2 separate regions of the Homo sapiens genome follow, and region 2 is linked to region 1. The links are contacts of gene promoters, found by promoter capture Hi-C in blood cells and fetal thymus (Javierre and others, 2016). All regions are on one chromosome and are shown on one strand. The core of a region is centred on a gene start or on the middle of the fragment in contact, and the rest is flanking DNA. Distances in the headings are between cores, read along the strand shown.

Region 1 (2,846 bases), core at 97-2,596:
TCCTTATAGTACACAAAACCACATTATTGTTTCTTTACTTGTGTCATTCCACCCTGGACCATTCCTATCTAAACCATAACATTATGAGAGAGAGAGAGAGAGAAAACAATATGAAAATATAAATTGATTAATCAAAAAAATTTAAATAGGACAAATCAGGAAGACACAAGAGAGATTTTAAAATTATTCAGAGAATACCACAATAGCTGTACCAATATATTTTAAAACTTAGATGAAACGGACAACTATCTCGATAAATGTAAATTACCAAAACTGACTCATGAAAAAATGGATATTATGAATAGAGCAATAATCAGTAAAGCAATTAAAAAGACAGTTGATAATTTTTATTTACTGACAACAATAACAAAATTTCAGGTCCTGATATTTTTATGGTGAATTTTAACAAATTTTCAAGCTCCTCCTCAACCAATTCTCAGAAGGTTTAAAACTTTAACAAGAAAACACTTTCTAACACATTTTCAGAAGCTGTTATAGCATGATACCAAAACCACACAAGAAAATTATAGACCAATCTCACTTACAAATATACATGCAAAATCAAACAAAATCTTAGTGAACCAAATTCAGAATTAATAATAGCAAACAAGCAAAATATGTTATCATACGTATGGCTTATATCAGGAATGCAAGTATGTTTCAACATCAGAAAATACTTCTCCACATTAACAGACTAAAGGAGAAAAACGCTTGTTTAATTATCTCAATAGGTTTTTAGAGAATTTTGAAAATTTTATAAAGTTATGCGTATTCTGTAAAATTGATGAAATCCAACCTTGATTTATTTTTAAAAATTGCCTTTCCTATAGAATTATAGGTAAAGGAAACACATGCATCCTCACAGAGCTACTTCAAGGCTAAGTTACTTCCCATAAGTAACGTATTCTGTAATGTGTGCTTGGCACATATTCAATACTAAACAAATATTTGCAAATCCTCAAACCACTTCTCGCTCAAATAACCCACCTTTGTCTTTTGCCTTTATGTTAGGGTTGATTTTCTCAATTGTATCTTGGAGATCCTTTGGTGGGTCTTTCAGCAATTACCCTGAATTTGCTTTTCTGTTTACAATTTTAATTCCTGGGAACTCTTTCTTGTTCTCTGACTGCACCCTTTTCATGAGAGTTCAGCCATCAATCCTCCAGAACCCCACCCCCCCCGCCCCCCCAAAAAGCAATAAAGATGTCTAAAAGCTTCTTTCTGGGCTTTCGAATGATGTTTACCCCAGGCATTTGTTCTATTCGTTCATCACCCATTTTCCCTACAACTTGCCTACACTTGATATCAGATTTTTATTTATTAGTCACCTATCTTCTTCATTGGCCCATTTTCCTATTTTGCCACTGGTTGTTCTCAAATGTGTTATGATTCCTGGTTGTACAGTCAAGTGGTTGATAATCTTGGATATACGATAAAGATTTGCTCTGTAGCTGTGTGTAAGCCTATATAAAAGCTTTTGTATTTTTCTTCTTAAAAAAGACAAAAGATGGTTGGGAAGATCCCTCCAGTTCACCAGTTCGAGGCTGCAGTGAGCTATGATAGCGCCGCTGCTCTAGCCTGTCTGTGAAAAACAAGGGGGGCGGGGGGCGGGGGGGAAGACTGGAGATGTAAATCTCCCGCAGGGCCCTACCCGTATCCGCAACAGGTCTCTAACAGGAACAGCCTCAGGCCTGTGTTGGAACAAGGTAGGTTACAGAAATCTGGAAGCCAGATCTGTAACTTCAGGGTAAGGACTGGCTCTCAGGGCTGATCCCCCGGGCTGGGTGTCCCAGAGGCACCCGCCCCCGCCCCTTCCCCAAGGCAGGCCAGGACACCTTCACTCCTCTCCTTAGGCTCCCCACCCCCTTCTCCTCCCCACTGTGCCTCCTGGAGTAGCGGTGGCGGTGCCACAGGGGAGCGGGGCGGGGCGGGCTCTGAGGGCAAGGGGGATGGGCCCCGCCGGGGTCACTGGCGGCCACCCTGGAAACTCGACGCAGGCCGGCCCTTCTAGTGAATCGTCCCAGCCACAGCTGGCCTCCCAGCCGCGCTTGGGGCGCCTCGGGGCGCGAATGGTGCAGGTTGGGGAGACTCACCACGCACCGTCGGGGGTCGGTCCGGTTATTCCTCACCGCTCGGCTCCAGTGGGCGCGCGGGCCTCTCCTCCTCAGTTCCTGCGCTGCAGTCCCTCCCTCACCCTTCGCAGCTTGGGAATCCGACTGTGTCATTCCGACGGAGCGCCGTGAGGACCTCCGAGGGTGTTAGCGCCAAGTGATCTCTGTCCAGCGCTCTGAATATCCAAGTAAAGGAGTTCAATGAAGGGCGGGTCAACGGAGGAGAAACCGTGACTCTCTCAAGGGAGCCCAAGGCCTCCTTGTCTAATTAGTGACGCGCCAATGGATGGAGGCTCTTCCCACCATCTCTTCCCAGCATCCAGTGACACCACCGCCAAGGGACGGGCTCGGCGGAACCTGCAGGAAAGAAGCATCGGCTGAGCCTGACTGCAGCGCTGTGAAGAGACAGGGGAGGGGATCAGTAGTTGGTCCCGCGCCCACCCCCTGTTTCCGCGAGGGGCGGAGTTGACTGGCCATGCAGGCAGAGGGCGAAATGTGAAATTCCACTACTCCTACCGTTTTTCCCTGACCCGATGGGGCGGAGTGTCGTCAGGCTAAGTTCCCTGGCGGTAAGGTGGGGAGATTGAGGCGCACACCTGCCGAACGGTAACGCAGGATTAGCTAAGGCGAGCTCAGGACAGAAGCCTCCCGAGGAGCAGGAGGGCAAAATAATAAATAAATAAATAAATAAATAAATAAATAAATAATAAATAACTCACTCCTTGGTCTTTATTT
Region 2 (2,846 bases), core at 129-2,628, 190 kb after region 1:
CGAGTAGCTGGGATTACAGGCGCCCACCACCATGCCCGGCTAATTTTTTTTTTTGTATTTTTAGTAAAGATAGGGTTTCACTGTGTTAACCAGGCTGGTCCCGAACTCCTGACCTTAGGGGATCCACCAGCCTTGGCCTCCCAAAGTGCTGGGATTACAGGCGTGAGCCACCGCACCCAGCCAAATTCTGGGCATTTCTCTCAGGCAAAAGCCACATACCCATCACACTTACCCCAATAAGTTGCAGCACCTGTTGCACCATGCCTTACACACTTACCTGCCCCACAAACACCCCCAATATCCATCCCAGGTTCATACCGCGTGACCACCTATCCAGGCCCAGGCACCCCTCCCAGTCACACACACACCCATCCCCTACCCCCAGTGCTGCCTGGAACTGCACTCTAGTCTACATTCCCCATCCTCTGTCCCCTAGACCTGCCCCCCGAAGTCCCCTGCCACACAGCCCCATCTAGGCAAGCCCAGCCTCCACCTCCACACATTCATCTCCCAAAGGACTCCTTGAATATTTGCCCCAAAACATCAGCTCCCAGAAAACACCCCTTTCAGGTCCCCAACCTTCTTACACATTTATCCCAATTGACTCCGTGCACAACCCTACTCCCCACTGCATCACAAACCACAGACACCTGTGCACACACGCACACATGCACCCCGGCACTCTCTCCTATTCTCATGACCTCTGGCATGCCTGCCCCACTCATCAGGCCCAGGCACCCCTGCCCTACTCCACCCACACACCTATGACTCCACACAACTCCCACACATGCACCAGCTCTCCAGAATCCTTTGCACACCTCGCCCCCATAAACACCCTCAACCCCAGCACACACATACACGTACACACGCAACACAACCAGAAAGAATATTCTTCTTCTCGTCCTACGATCCCCCTGGAAGGTCCCCAAGCCTCCTGCCTGCTCATTCCAAACCTTGACTGAGCCGATTTCCTCGCCAAAGCTTTGCCCTCTCATCCCCAACTCCAGGACCCAGGGAAGGGACTGTGACCCCCACCCACCTACGTCCCTCACTCACCGCTCACGATCACAGGCCGGGGCTTCCTGAACCCTCGCAATGACACTTGCCCGGACCCTGCCACCGAGGATCCAAGGGGCGCTGGGACCTTGCGCTTTGCTCTACGCGGGTCTCAGCGCCCCGGGCCCGCTGCGCGCGGGGGCGGGGACGGGGCGGGGCGACGGCTTCCCAGGCTCTGTCCCTCCGCGGCGTCCGGCGAGGGATCCCTGAAAGCCGACGTCAGCGTCCAGGAACGGGTTCCTACGACTCCCGGGGGTCTGGGAGCAGGCGGGAATCCTTGGAGAACTGCAGCCCCTTCCTCGTGAGCCCAGGCCCAAGCTCTGCCGGAGGAGGGGGCACCCCGGATTCTCCAGGGCCTTCCTGGCTTGGCCCCGCCTCCCTTCCCCTTTGCGCAATAATAGCCAATAATAATAACAGCAACAAGGACCGTGCGCCCTGTTCTAAGTGCTTTGCAAATAAACTTACATACACATGTATTCCTCAGCACAACCCTAAGAGGCATAATCGTTTATTGTCCTGTTTCACGCGGGAGGAAACTGGCAAGCCGAGGTTAGGTAAATTGCCTAGGGGTACATCATTGGTTCATTGAGGGCAGACTGTACCCAAGCCCTGTGTTAAACGCTTTACATTCATCATCGCATTCATTCTTCCTCTCAGCTCCGGGTTTTTCTTGTTGTTGTTGTTGTTGTCGCTGCTATTTTACTTTGGTTTTTTTGTTTGTTTTGTTTTGTTTTTGAGACGGAGTCTTGCTCTGTCGCCCAGGCTAGAGTGCAGTGGAGTGATCTCGGCTCACCGCAACCTCCGCTTCCCGGGTTCAAGCGATTCTCCTGCCTCAGCCTCCCGAGTAGCTGGGATTACAGGGGCAAGCCACCACGCCCAGCTAATTTTTGTATTTTTAGTAGATGAGATTTCGCTGTGTTGGTCAGGTTGGTCTTGAACTCCTGACCTCAGGTGATCTGCCCGCCTCAGCCTCCCAAAGTGTTAGGATTACAGGCGTGAGCCACCGCGCCCGGCAGATTTTTTTTTTATTATTATTTTTTAAAAGACGGGGTCTTGCTCTGATCGCCCAGGCTGGAAGGCAGTGGCGCAATCATTGCTCGCTTCAGCCTCAGACTCCTGGGTTCACTGCAGCCTCGGCCTCCCAAAGCGGTGGGATTACAGGTGTGAGTCACCGCGCCTGGCCTATTTTGTTTTGGGGTGTTTTTTTGCGGAGGAGTGCTGAAGGGGTGTTGGCTTGTTTTTAATCCCTGTTTTGCAGATAAAGAAACGGGCTCACGGGCCGGGCGCAGTGGCTCACGCCTGTAATCCCAACACTTTGGGAGGCCGAGGCGGGCGGATCACGAGGTCAGGAGATCCAGACCATCCTGGCTGACACGGTGAAACCCTGTCTCTACTAAAAATACAAAAAATTAGCCGGGCTTGGTGGCGGGCGCTTGTAGTCCCAGCTACTTGGGAGGCTGAGGCAGGAGAATGGCGTGGACCCGGGAGGCGGAGCTTGCAGTGAGCCGAGATCGCGCCACTGCACTCCAGCCTGGGAAACAGCAAGACTCCGTCTCAAAAAAAAAAAAAAAAAAAAAAAAAGAAAAGAAAATAAACGGGCTCACTTGCATGCTCACTTGGCCACAGTAAACAGCTGGTACCAAGCCCAGCATATTGTAACCCCGGGCTGTGTTCCTGTGGCCCTTGCTAAGCCAATGGGTGAGGAGGAAGCAGAGGCAGGTGGGTTAGGAGTTTCTAGGGAAAGAAGGCTGAGGAGTGGGGTCCAGTAGGGGGTGATGCTCTGATTGTCA

Evidence for each region. Contacts are between HindIII fragments. The CHiCAGO score rates a contact against its expected background, and 5 or more counts as called.
Region 2: a contact is called between the fragment with the promoter of TMEM91 here and a fragment that was not itself captured in region 1, in 4 of 17 cell types (naive B cells, total B cells, fetal thymus and 1 more). The highest score is 8.2, in naive B cells.

The regions. Positions count from the first base shown.
Region 1 is chr19:41,564,304-41,567,149 of GRCh38, reverse strand. It overlaps a transcript of CEACAM21 not described here and the pseudogene LOC110467527. Among named protein-coding and RNA genes, the nearest start is that of CEACAM21, 10 kb to the left of the region's middle. The HindIII fragment of the contact is 260 bases long and covers 1,217-1,476 here.
Region 2 is chr19:41,375,065-41,377,910 of GRCh38, reverse strand. TMEM91 (transmembrane protein 91) reads right to left here and starts at 1,378. Exons shown (of 4, transcript NM_001098821.2): 1 at 1,057-1,378. RefSeq lists a silencer at 1,133-1,262. The HindIII fragment of the contact is 2,591 bases long and covers 984-2,846 here.